Regions from separate parts of the Homo sapiens genome. Here all the other regions are linked to region 2. Evidence: promoter capture Hi-C in human tissues and cell types (Jung and others, 2019). All regions are on one chromosome and are shown on one strand. Each heading gives the region's core, a stretch centred on a gene start or on the middle of the fragment in contact. The rest is flanking DNA. Distances are from core to core; before and after follow the strand shown.

What was found. The method cuts DNA at HindIII sites, captures the fragments that hold promoters and counts their contacts. A contact is called where the count stands out against the background at its distance.
Region 1: a contact is called between a fragment that was not itself captured here and the fragment with the promoter of HSPA12B in region 2, in 1 of the 25 tissues and cell types used here (spleen).
Region 3: a fragment that was not itself captured here is called in contact with the fragment with the promoter of HSPA12B in region 2 in 1 of the 25 tissues and cell types used here (lymphoblastoid cells).

What each region holds. Positions count from the first base shown.
Region 1 is chr20:4,181,777-4,186,493 of GRCh38, reverse strand. SMOX (spermine oxidase) reads right to left here. Exons shown (of 7, transcript NM_175839.3): 4 at 4,518-4,691; 5 at 3,646-4,405; 6 at 2,840-3,000. Among named protein-coding and RNA genes, the nearest start is that of LINC01433, 9.0 kb to the left of the region's middle. The HindIII fragment of the contact is 6,680 bases long and covers 1-4,717 here.
Region 2 is chr20:3,729,800-3,734,243 of GRCh38, reverse strand. It overlaps HSPA12B (heat shock protein family A (Hsp70) member 12B), which reads right to left and starts at 1,559. Exons shown (of 13, transcript NM_052970.5): 1 at 1,450-1,559. RefSeq lists an enhancer at 918-1,497. The HindIII fragment of the contact is 12,948 bases long and covers 1-4,444 here.
Region 3 is chr20:4,085,121-4,089,308 of GRCh38, reverse strand. No RefSeq gene overlaps it. Among named protein-coding and RNA genes, the nearest start is that of SMOX, 62 kb to the left of the region's middle. The HindIII fragment of the contact is 4,410 bases long and covers 1-4,143 here.

The DNA.
Region 1 (4,717 bases), core at 892-3,391, 450 kb before region 2:
AGTGAGAATTTTGGTACAGCCAGGGCTCGGCCTTGAGAAAGCAGGCTGTCTAGGTGAGGTCTAGGCAAGGTACAAGTTCTTGCACCCCAAGTTTGCATTTGGACTTTATCCTAGTTCCTCTCAAATTCAAGGTGCAAGGCACCAGCTGTGGATCCTGATAAAATGCAGTTTTTATTTATTATTTTTGAGACAGTGTCTCACTCTATTGCCCCAGTTGGAGTGCAGTAACATGATCACAGCTCCACTGCAGCCTCAACTTCCTGGGCTCAAGCAATCCTCCCATCTAAGCCTCCTAAGTAGTTGGGACTACAGGCACACACCACCACACCTGGCTAATTTTTTTTTAAATTTTTTGTTGAGATGGAGGTCTTACTTTGTTGCCCAGGCTGGTCTTGAACTCCTGAGCTCAAGCCATCCTCCCACTTCGGCCTCCCATAGTGCTGGGATTATGGGCAGGAGCCTGCATCCCTGGCCAGAATGCAGTTTTTAATCCAGCAGGTCTGGGGTGGGCTGAGAGTCTGCATTTCTTTTTATTTATTTATTTATTTGTGTGTGTGTGTGTTTAGGGCGCCAGGGGTTGTTGTTTTTTGGTTTTTGTTTTGAGACAGGGTCTCGCTCTGTCACCCAGGCTGGAGTGCAATGGCATGATCTCAACTCACTGCAACCTCCGCCTCCCAGCTTCAAGCAATTCTCATGCCTCAGCCTCCCAAGTAGCTAGAACTACAGGTGTGCACCACCATGCCTGGCTAATTTTGTATTTTTAGTAGAGACAGGGTTTCGCCATGTTGGCCAGGCTGAGAATCTGCATTTCTTTTTATTTATTTATTTATTTGTGTGTGTGTGTGTTTAGGGCGCCAGGGGTTGTTGTTTTTTGGTTTTTGTTTTGAGACAGGGTCTCGCTCTGTCACCCAGGCTGGAGTGCAATGGCATGATCTCAACTCACTGCAACCTCCGCCTCCCAGCTTCAAGCAATTCTCATGCCTCAGCCTCCCAAGTAGCTAGAACTACAGGTGTGCACCACCATGCCTGGCTAATTTTGTATTTTTAGTAGAGACAGGGTTTCGCCATGTTGGCCAGGCTGAGAATCTGCATTTCTAACTAGCTCCCAGGTGAGGCTGGTACTGATCTACCTACCCTGAGTAGTGAGGCTGTAATCCCACCACCAAGGAGCCCACAGAGGCTGTTACACTGAAAGGGGTGTTGTATACTGTGTCAGCCTTGACCTCCTGGGCTCAAGTGATCCTCCCACCTCAGCCTCCCAAGTAGCTGGGACCACTCCCACATCCAACCATTCTCCTCTTTCTCCTCAATAACAAAGTCCTGATTTTTAACTGGGTCCATTGCCATCCAGAATAAAAATGATACTGCCCAGCCTCTGTAGCAGCTAGGTGCAGTCATGTGTCTATGTTCTGGCCAATAAGCATTAAAGTGCACTGTTGCTTAGAGACACAGCTGACTCAGCTCCAAGGGTTCCCTTCTTGCCATCTGCCTTTCCTCTTCCTTCTAGCCTAAGATGCAGATGTGAGAACTGGAGCTTCTGCAGCCCTCTTGGACCACAAGATGGTCTTGAAGATGAGAGCCAGGTGCTAATGATACGGGATCCTGCTGCCTGCCTCCAGATTTCCTTTTGATTTTCCTTGTTTAAGTCACAGTTGTGTTTGCTTTGCTTTGCTTTTTGCTACATGCACTAGTCCTAACTGATGCAAGTGAAAAGAGAAGATTTGCTTTTTAGGAGGATGGCTGTGGCAGCAGAAAGGGCCTTTCTGAGGACCTCTCTCTCTTTAAACACCAGCCCTTTTCTCTCTCCATCTGAGCACCGTTGGGCAGGCATAGTAGATGCTGGTTGACTGAACTCTTCTTCACCAATTATACCAAATAATTGTTTTAAATATAACTGTTGAGTTTTAACATTTACTGTGTGTGTCTACTTGATGGGGGAAACTCAAAATCCACTTTATGGGAGCATAAATATATATTTCAGATTTTTTTTTTTTAGTGTACAGTTGGCATATTGTGGAGCATCAGTAATCTAAACTTTATTTTCTGAAATATATTGGGAAAACATTTCCATTGAATCAGTGCTGTCCAATAGGACATTCCTATCGCTATGTACTTTACTATGGTAACCTCTAGCCACATGTGGCTGTTGAACTTGAAATGTGACTAGTGCAACCAAGGAACAAAAACTTTACTGTATTGGCCAAGTGTGGTGGCTCATTCCTATAATCCTAGCACTTCAGGAGGTTGAGGCGGGAGGACAGCTTGAGCCCAAGAGTTCAAGACCAGCCTAGCAGTATGATGAAACCCCATCTCTACCAAAAAAAAAAAAAAAGTACAAAAATTAGCTGGACATGGTGGCGTGCCGGCATGCCTGTGGTCCCAGCTAGTTGGGAGGCTGAGGTGGGAGGATCACTTGAGCCCAGGAGGTCAAGGCTGCAGTGAGCTGTGATCACACCACTATACCCCAGCCTGAAGTGTAGACAGAGCAAGACCCTGTCTCAAAAAAGAAAAAAAAAATACTGTATTAATTTAAATTTTTAATAAATTAATTTAAATTGAAAGTGGCTGATAGCTACCGTATTGGCCAGCACAGCATGGAATAGCTCAGTTTTCATAACATCAAGAAAACATTTTAAGTTTCAATTTGATTCCATTTTTTCTTCCAGATATTAAGTGCACACTTTTTTCCTTGTGTTCTCTCTCATTACAGAAGCTACTCCATCCCTGCCTCACCTGAGCACCCCTTAGTGAACACTACCCTAGCCCTCCTCACCCTGGACCGGACACACATACAAAATACACCCACAACTCCCCTCCTCACCCCAAACGCCCCGCTTACCGCTGTCTTTGAGCTCTCTGTGTACGGCAGGGGCTTGGCCAGCTTCTCCACATCCGCCCCGCTGGAGCCCACCTGCGTGTATGAATAGGAGCCGCGGAAGTAAGGGTTGCTGCCCCAGGCCGAGCGCAAGATTCGCCGAGGTTTTGGAATGTTGGGGTTCCCTGATGGAGAGTCAGAAAAGCCAAGAGGAGGGAGGATAAGAAATGGCTGCATATGGAAGATGACCCCAAAGGGACAACCCCCCACCCCACCTCCAGGGCTCCGGGAGGACCAGACTGCCAGGGGTAGGCACGGAGGATAGAAGAGGAAGGAGGGAGGCTGGGGCTCGAGCTGTGTACCCACTCAGCGCCTCCTGTGACCCCCGGCAAAACGCTCCACCTTACTTTTCCTATCTATCTGAAAACACATGACACATAATCATGTTTCCCCGCCTAATATCGGGGGTTCTCGTGAGGTCCTCCTGGAATAGTGGGTGAAAAATGTTGAGCTGAAAGACTCAGAGAGTAAAAGGCAAATCCAGCTCTTAGCAACAGAGCACAATGGGCGGTGATCTCTGAGTGTTTTACCATCAGCCTTTAGAAAGGGGGAAGAGACACAGCGCCCATAATTCTGAGTGTGTCAAGTTCTAAACTGTCAGCAACTGAAGAGCCTTTGGCTGAATGTGGCACCCTGCAGTGGCTCTCCCGTGGGGCACAGCATCCGAGCTTCACGGTCTGGGGAGGAGAGAGCTGCCATGGGTCCACCAGAGGAGGGCAGGTGAGGAAGAAGCAGGGTGGGGGAAGCGGGTCGTGGGGCACGTGGCGCACCTGTGAACTGACGCAGCATCTCCGTGCAGATCTCGGCCACTGCCTCGTCATCACACTTCTCCATGACGAGGGCCTCCTCCCCGCAGATCCAGCCGCTCAGCACATGGCCGTAGCGCTCAGGCGGGTAGAGGACATCAAAGCCGCAGATCTTGCGGTACCAGAGCTCAGGTGGGTAGGTGAGGGTGTGGCTCTCTGCTTCGTCCTCCCACACAAACTGTAGGCTGTTGCACTCAGGGCCCCAGAAGGGCTCCTCGAATTCCAGAAAGATCTTGTCGGTGGTGCCAATGCCCAGGCGGTGGATGGCAGCCACCTTCTCTGTGGGCAGGCCTGGCCGGAAGAAACTGGTGTACTGCCTCTTTAGCACACCTAGCGACACGGTCACAATCACATGGTCCGCCGGGATCAGCTCACAGTCCTCGCACTCCACCACCACCGACCACTGCTCATCCTCATCCCACCTGCCCCCCCGGGGCTCCTCTCCACCCTGGCCACCCTCCCCAGTGTCGTGATTGTGGTCGCCCTCACCCCGGGGCTCAATCTCAGGGCCTCTGGGGCGGGCTGAGGCCTGGTCCCAGTGAATGCAGCGGACAGGTTTCCCTAGCTGGATGACGTGGGCAGGGATGCCCTCCGCCAGCAGCTCCACAACCCGCATGAAGCCCGAGGGGATGATGTGGTGAGCGCCGGGGATCTCGGTCCACTCCCCGAAGGCGCTCAGGGACACCTCGTCCATGCTGTGTGAGCTGCTCTCACAGCTCTCCACCTGCGGGAAGACCCAAGGAGAAGCCAGGTGACCGCCGGGGTTGGGCAGGGGTAGGAGCAGCGTAGCCCTCCTCAGACCCAGACGCCCCCAGAATCCGTCTTCCTCAAGATACCTTCAGGTACTGCTGGATCATGGCGAGCTTCAGGCGCTTGGTAGCCTCTGGGTCGTCAGGGTCATTCCTGATGCGGTTACGCACCTCCTCTCGGGTGAACACCCCCACGCTATTTTGACTTTCAGCATTGACTGGTTTATCGTGCCGGAAGAACTCCTGGGTCAAGTTATAGACCTGCCAGAGAGACCCCATGAGACTGA
Region 2 (4,444 bases), core at 310-2,809:
GACTCCCATCCCAGAGTATCCCCTGGTCTTACAATAGCCTAGGACGAACCCTGCCCCCACTCCCGCTCCTTTTTTTGAGACAGGGTCTTGCTCTGTTGCCTAGGCTGGAGTGCAGTGGCACGATCACGGCTCACTGCAGCCTCGACCACCTGGCCTCAAGCGATCCTCCCACTTCATCCTCCCAAAGTGCTGGGATTACAGGCGTGAGCCACCTTGCAGGGGCCCAACCCTTTGCCTGACAGAATCCTCGGAGGATCTCTTCCTGTGTGGGGTGTTTCAGCTGGGCGCTCATGTCCCCAGGAGCACTATGGGAATGCAGTGTTCTGGGTTTCAGGGCTCCACACGATGCCTGTGTAGACAAAGAGCCCACCCAGGTCATTCCAGCTCCCCTCCTCACTAGGACCCTGCCTCTTCCGCCTGCTGCTCTCTGCTCAGCACCCAGCCAGCCCTGTAATGGAACAGGACTCCGTCAGCGGGCTAAGTGAGGCCACAGGCGTTTCTTCCAAGCCACAGACTGGGCCAACCAGGGCCCAAAGCACAGATCAGAAACGGCACCCAAAGGGCTGCCCCACTCTGTTCTGGAGAGGAGCCCTTAAGAAGATGGGACCATGTGTGGCTGAGTGAGGTGGCTGCCCCATCCTGCGCTGGGGCAGGGAGTGACAGAAATGGCCTCCCATGGCCCCTCCCTGTCCTCATCTTTGCTTTCCATACATCCTGCCGCACCCCCTTGGGTCCTCATCATGGGAGCAGCCAGTTCACAAACAACAGAGCCCCTCCCATGCTCTGCCCACAGCCCCCCATTACCCCTCTGGCCTGGGATTCCTGCGCTGCGTCTGCTCTCCGGAGGGTCCCTAGTTTCGTGATCACTCCCTTCCAGTCTCTCTCATCAACACACGCTAACCTCACAGATAGGCTCCACTGCCCTAGCGGGAACCTGGACCCCACCCCACCTGGACCTCAAGCTGGCCCGGAAGACCAGGTCCCAGCCTCAGACCCTGGCACCTGGGCCACTCAGTACTCTGTTGCGCTTCGGGACCACAGGGCCTGGGACCCCTGAGGCACCCCCCAACACACACACATACACTCAACTCCCAGGTTTCCACCTCAGACCTAGGCACCGGGTCCCTCAGTTTGGCTCCCTGGAGCAGGCCCCAGCCCACACCAGTCCTGCCAGCCCCTAAGACACAGGAGTTTCTCCAGCCTAAGCCTCTGAGCAGCTGTGCGAGGGACAGGGGAGGTGGTCCCCCGAAGCCCAGGTGGGAGACCAAGGTCGCTGCCCCAAGTGCCTTCCCGAGCCCGCAGCCACGCTGCAGAGAGGGGCTTGCAGATCTGTCCCCACCAGACAAAGTCTGGAGGTTTTTGGTGGGGTCTCAGCCGACAGCCCGGGACGGCAAACCTCCTCGCCTTTCTCCACTCGGGGCGCCCGGCAGCCCCCGCCCCAGAACTCACCTCCGCCCTCCCGACAGCTCCAGCCCCGTCCAGCCGCCGCGATCCCGGGCCCGCAGCTCGTTGGCCGTGCCCGCTGCGGCGGCCGCAGCCCTCGACGTGCGCCCGGCCCTGAGGCCTCCCGCCTCCTCGCGCCGCCCACCCCGCCCGCCGCCCCCTCCCCCAGGCCGGATGGCCGCGCCGCCTGCGCCGCCGGGTCGGCCCGCGCTCCCGGCCCAGATGTGCGAGGCCGGGGCGGGGCCTGCCTGCGCGGGCCTCCGCCGAGGGGCCCAGCCTGGTCCCGCGTCCAGGGCCCCTCCCTGAGCCCCTCCTGCGCCTCCCCCGCTCCCCTAGCAGCCCAGGGGGTGGGAGAAGGGAGAGGGGGCGGCGGAGGGAGGGGAAGAGGAGTTCCAGACCCTGGTCGGCCTCCTGCGGTCCAGCTGCTGAGGGGCTCCCCCGCCCCGCCCCCACAGGCCCACCTTGGGGCTCAGCCTCGGCCCCTTCAGCGAGGGCCCAACAGCGGAGGGGGAAGGGCCCGCCCTAGACCCCTCCACTTCCCTGCCCCAGACCCCTCCAGTCCCTTGACCCGGAACCCTCTCTCCTCCCACCCCTACTGCCCCTACAGCTTCCCTAGCCCGGTCCTCAGTGGCCAGAAAAGAGGCAGAATTGCGGATGAGGGCAGGCCCTCGGGTCCCCAGGCTAGGCCTAGCTCTGTCTTTGCTCAAGTTCAGACGACGGAGGCGCGGAGTCTCACAGACTGAGGCCCCATGCCCGGCAAGGGGACCACTCCGCACCAGGGGGCACCCAGCCTCTCCTCCGAGGCACACAGCCTTTTTCTTGTCCTAACCGGGGCCCTTCTGGGGATGCTGGGACTTGGCCTCCAGACAGGGGGTTTGTGGGGTGAAGGTCTCTTTCTGGGCTGGGAACCCGTGGCTCATGCCTGTAATCCAGCGCTTTGGGAGTCTGAGGTGGGAGGATGGCTTGAAGCTGGCTGGGCAACAAAGACCAGCCTGGGCAACAAAGGGAGACCCTGTCTCTAAAAAGTTTTAAAAATTAGCCAGGTGTAGTAGCTCACGTCTGTAGTCCTAGGTACTCAGGAGGCTGGGGTGGAGGATTGCTTGAGCCCAAGAGTTTGAGGCTGCAGTAAGTGTGATCACACCACCGCACTCCAGCTTGGGTGACAGAGAGAGAACCTGTCATAAATAAATGAATGAACGGATGAATGAATGAATTTCTGCTAGGTCCCTCGTGGAGCTTTCAAAGGCAGCTGACTCGTTCTGCCTGTTCCCCTTCCCCTCTGCCCCATGTGCCCCCACAGAAGTTCCAGATGCTTCTCAGTCCACCTCCCTTTGTGCCTGGGAAGGCTGCCCGTCAGAGAAGGGCCCCACAGCCCCATCAAATGAGGCACAGTTCTTGGGACATCCCTTTTGCTCTTCCACTCCAAACCTTTGCAAGGGCTATTTTCCCTCCCTGAAATGCTCTCCTTCCTCCTCTCTGCCCAGCCAAAATGCTCCCCAGCTACAGTGTCACCTCCCTAGGCTTGCTGCCTTTCTTCTCAGAGCCACTGCCCCAGAGGGCCTCCTTAATGAGGTCAGGCATGGTGAGTGCGCTGCACCAACAATTCTGGATACCAAGCCAACATGGTATCCAATCAGCAGTCTCCACAGGCCGCCTCCCAGTGTGCGTCTATGTGTGTCCGTCTGTGCATCTGTTGGTGTGTTTGTGTCTGTGCTTAAGTGTGTCTTTGTATGTGTAAGACTTTGCTTATATGTCTGTTCATGTGTGAGTGTGTTTCTTGGATTGTCTGACTGTGTCTGTGTGTGCGCTAGTGTGTGACTGTGTTTCTGTATTACGTGTGTGTGTTGCTGCATCTTGTGTCTTTGTGTCTGTGTGTAACAGGGGTCCTTGGTTGGGGCCTGCAGGCCTGCACCTCGTTTGAGGCTGAGCAGAGCCAGGAGGGATTGGAGTGTGTGTCTGCTGTGCATGTCCTGGGGTCTGCAGGGTCTGGCCCCTCACACTCATGCCTGCCCCTTTTTTCTTTTTCCCTTCCACCTGGTTTCCCTGTCCCCAACTCCAGCTCCAAAGATGGGCTCGTCTCTGAGGGCCACGGCAGCAGGCTCTGAGCAGGGGTGAAGACTCATGGGGGGCGTATCCCCTGTCCTCAGTGCCAGCGCCCTCCAAACCTTCCTGTTTGGAAGCTCCCTCCTTCCCCCACCCCCACATTTCGGCCCCCCTCAGTCTGATGAGGGAGTCACAGACCCCACCCTTGGGCCGCATCCAGTCTGACATGAGAGAAGGATAGCAAATAGCCCCAGTGAGCCCACATTCCACACTAGAGGAAGCTCGATTCAATTGTCCAGGTGGGCATGGATGAGGGTCCTCAGAGTCCCTGCCCTCTACCTCTCTGTGCCCTCCCGTCTCCCTCCTGCTCCTCTCCAGCATGGTTGTGGGCCCACCCACTGACCTCACCAGCTTCCTGCATCTCCCTGGGTGGGGTAGCACGAGGAAGAATCAGCCTCTGAGTAGGTCCTCCCCAGGAGCAGCCTCTCCCCAGGCCCGCTGTTTTCCTCTGGACTGTGGTCAGGGATTTCCCCTCTCATGAGATGCCCTTCCTCTCAGCCCTGCCCCCAGTCCATCTCTATCTGCAACCAGAGGTGACTTTCAAAGGCACAACTCTGGGGCCATCCCATCACCACTCCTATACTCTCCGTGGCTCCCCATGACCCAGAGAAGAGCCAAGGCGTGGACTGCCCTTGGCTGACCTCCCAAACTCTTTTTCCAGCCCCTAGCCTCCAACCCCATGTCCAGCCCCTTGGGCACGTCCTGCCTTCTGTGCTTCTGAACCTTCCACCTAGGCCAGCCCCAGCCCTGAGCTGCTTGTCCACATCCATCCCTACCTCAGGCGGTTGGGGAGAAAGGGGTCCCTTAGACCCTTGTGTGGGTGCTGTGTCTGCTTGGGGAGTCCCCTGGCCCCAGGTCCCCTCCATGGGGATTTCAAGACTTCCTGGGTTTGGAAGGC
Region 3 (4,188 bases), core at 689-3,188, 350 kb before region 2:
TCCATCCACATCCCAACCAAGCCCACCACCCTCTAGACTTTCAAGGGCTCCTGACTACCTGGACTTTCCACTGTTCTCCTTGGCCCATGAAATTGGATGTCCCTGTCCCAAGGCTGTCTGCAGTACACTCGAACTTGCTCTGCCCTTGAACTTGCTCTTGGGCATATCAGCTGCCCCTTAGGCCAGACCCTGGGCTTTCTGTATCTCAGAAATCTGCTTTTATCCCTGGACCCCACATTAGTCCCTGTTCCTGGCCTTTGGGATTTGCCGTGGTTGTGGTTGGGCCCTCCAACTGGGTGAGGGCCCAACTGCTCACTCCCAGGAGACCAGTACCCACATCCCAGCACAGAGCAGGTGAGAGCTCCCACACTCCTTTTTACCCACTCTCACGGCCTTACTGTGTGCCCTTCTGTAGCTTCTGTGACCCATTGATCTTCCTACAACCTCCCTGGCAGGATCTCTTTGCTCCTCTCCATCCCATATTCAATACCGGGTCCCTGTGGAGCGCCAGGCTCTATACTAAGGACCCTGTGTGGGTCCCCCAAGGGCAGAAACCATCTTTCCCCATCAACTCAAAGTCTCCTAGGCATAAAGGCTGGGGGTGGAGGGCTGAGGACTGACCCAGGACCTCTATTTTGCCTCCTGTAAATAAAGATATCTCAAAATACAGTAAGAAGACCAACTAAGTGGGTGAAACTCCACCAACTGACAGATAATTGTCACATCTTAACTATACATCTTTCCTCGGCAGGCAAGACACATCTAGGCCTGGTGAAGACAGAAACGCTAGTCCCCCCCCTTATTTGCAGGGGATACATTCAAGACCCCCAGTGGATGCCTGAAACCGCAGATAGTACCAAACCCTATACATACTATGGATTTTTCTATATGTACATATCCACCATAAAGTATAATGCATAAATTAAGCACAGTTAAGAGGTTAACAATAATAACTGATAATAAAATAGAACAATTATAACAACTGTTCTATTTTATTCTCAGTTATTATTGTTAATAATAATTATGTTGTGATGATGTTAAGCATCACCACTTTTGCATCCAGGGGTCGTTATTAAATGAAGTAAGGGTTACCTGAACATAAGCACTGCGATACCTCAGCAGTTGATCTGACAGCCAAGACAGCTACCAAGTGACTAATGAGCGGGAAGAATATGCAGCATGGACGTGCTGGACAGAGGGATGATTCACTCTACTCAGCATGGCAGGCAATTTAAAATGGGAGTTGCTCATTTTGTTTTTTGGTTTTCTTTTTCTTTTTCTTTTTCTTTTTTTTTTTTTTTTTGAGACTGAGTCTCACTCTGTCACCCAGGCTGGAGTGCAAGGGTGCAATCTTGGCTCACTGCAACCTCTGCCTTCCAGGTTCAAGCGATTCTCCTGCCTCAGCCTCCCAAGTAGCTGGGACTACAGGCACACACCACCATGCCCAGCTAATTTTTGTATTTTAGTAGAGAAGGGGTTTCACAATGTTGGCCAGGCTAGTCTCAAACTCCTGACCTCAAGTGATCTGCCCGTCCCAGCCTACCAAAGTACTGGGATTACAGGTGTGAGCCACCCCATCTGGCCAAAACATGAATTATTTATTTCTGGAATTTTTCCATTCAATATTTTCAATCTGTGATTGACAGCATCTAACTGAAACCGCAGAATGCAAAATTGCCAATAAGGTGGGGGACTATTGTAATTTTCTTTTTCTTTTGTGAACCACTCCCTCCCAGGGCCAAAAAGAGTCAGATCCTCTGCAGCAGGGGTCTCCAGCTCCCGCAGTACTGATCCATGGCCTGTTAGAAACTGGGCCACACAGCAGGATGTGAGCTGCAAGTGAGTGAGCATTACCGCCTGAGCTCCGCCTCCTGTCAGATCAGCAGCAGCATTAGGTTCTCATAGAAGCACGAACCCTACTGCAAACTGCGCATGTGAGGGATCTAGGTTGCACGCTCCTTATGAGAATCTGATTAATGCCTGATGATCTGAAGTCGAACAGTTTCATCCCAAAACCATCCCCTCCCCCCTACCCCGTCTGAGGAAAAATTGTCTTCCTCAAAACCAATCCCTGGTGCCAAAAAGTTTGGGGACCACTGGTCTACAAAGAATGCGCATGGATCAGGTGGGGACATGCTATGGTTTGAATGTCCCCTCCAAAACTCATGTTGGAATTTAACTCCCATTGTAGCAGGGTTGAGAGGTGGGGCCTTTAAAAGGTTGGTGAATGCCGTTATCAGTCAAATGGGTTAGTTATCCCAGGAGTGGTTTCCTGATAAAAGGATGAGTTTGGCCAGTTTTCTTTCTGTCTCACACATGTGCTTCCTCACCATGTGATATCTTCCACCATGGGATAAAGCAGCATGAAGTCTTCATCAGTCAGACACCAGCGTCATGCTCTTGGCCTTGCCAGCTTCCAGAACCGTGAGCCAAATACATTATTTTCTTTATAACTTACCCAGTCTGTGGTATTCAGTTATAGCAGCAGAAATGGACTAAGATGGAACACAAGAGAGGGAAGGAAGTGCAGAGAGAGGGGGAGAAGAGGGAATAAAACTTCCCCAGAGCTGCGGAGAGCCTACCCCATCTCTTCATCCCTGGGAATCAGGGAGGGGCTGCAGACACAGCCCCTAAGCCTGCTCTGCATGATGAGAAGCATAAAGACCTGACCCTACAGCGTAGTACCCTAAGCATGTTCCTCCTGCCTGCGATGAAAGGGGCTATCTCCCCACCCACATACAACCCATCTGCCTCAGGTGTCCACACCATGGAGGCAGAATGTCATGGGCTTGCTGTCAGACCATGTCAGATCATGCTGGGAGATAAATTCCCACCATTAACTCAGAACATGGTGGTGCTGGTTGTGGGGTCCTATGGCCAGAGCCTATGCCCTCGCTGTCCATGATAGCTGCATGGGGGGTGTAGGCTGGCACCAGCTACAGATGCCCTGAGAGCTGCTGTCCAAAGAGCTGTTCTGAAGAAGCTTTGCTGAGGGGCACAGGGCCGTGGGGGGAGAGAGAGGCAGCCGTGGGGGCGCCCCAGATGTTGCCCCATGCCCTTCCAGGGCCTGCCTGGAACTGAAGACACGAGCCCTTGTGAGAGTCAGAGGCACTCGGTCGGGCGCGGTGGCTCACGCCTGTAATCCCAGCACTTTGGGAGGCCGAGGCGGGCGGATCACGAGGTCAGGAGATCAAAACCATCCTGGTTAACACGGTGAAACCCTGTATCTACTAAAAATACAAAAAAATTAGCCGGGCGTGGTGGCGGGCGCCTGTAGTCCCAGCTACTCGGGAGACTGAGGCAGGAGAATGGCGTGAACCCAGGAGGCGGAGCTTGCAGTGAGCCGAGATCGCGCCACTGCACTCCAGCCTGGGCGACAGAGCGAGACTCCGTCTCAAAAAAAAAAAAAAAAAAAGTCAGAGGCACTCATCTGAGTTCCCACTTCAAATTGGCAGAGGTCAGGGAGGAGTCCCCACGATAGGACCTACAGGCTGGCAAAGAACGTGCAGGTGGAGGAGGCAAGACAGTGAGGTCACACCAAGGGGCCGGAGAGAGGTCATTCCATGACTGATGTTCTTGGAATCCGGAATCTGCCCTGCGTGCACAAAAATGCCCTCGGAGAGCACGGGGCTGGGGAGCTGGCAGAATCTTCACAGATGCTGAAGAGAGGCACAGCGCAGGCCCTCCCCTGAGTCTTCCCTGATGAAAAAAGGAGGCCAAGGGCAAAGCGGAGAGTGCCGGAGAGCCCTCATTCCTGTTCCCTCGCCACCTGGGGCCCGGGAACCAGACGGACCCTGCGTTAGGATGTGCCGTTGCTGCCTGACTTAAGGCTGGAAAAATACCACGCCCAAGGGTTGGCAGGGGGCTGTGGCTGACCACCAGGGGGCAGCTGTGAGCCCCATGGCCAGGCACGCGCATAGCTCTCTTCAGGGAAAGCAAGCCAGGCTTTCACTGACTGAGACCCTGCTTTAAAAATCTCAGCCAGTAGCTGCTCCCCTGAGCCCATAAGGAGTCCTCAGGTTGAGAGGTGTGCGATGTCCTCCAAGAAACCTTTGTCCCAATAGGCAGACCCCTAAATACCCCAACCACGTTTCAGTACCAAAAATGGGATCCTATACTTTAAAAACCTGACCTTGGTGTGACCCCTAACCCTGGCCTCAGACTTCCCCCAAACCCATTGCAATCCTT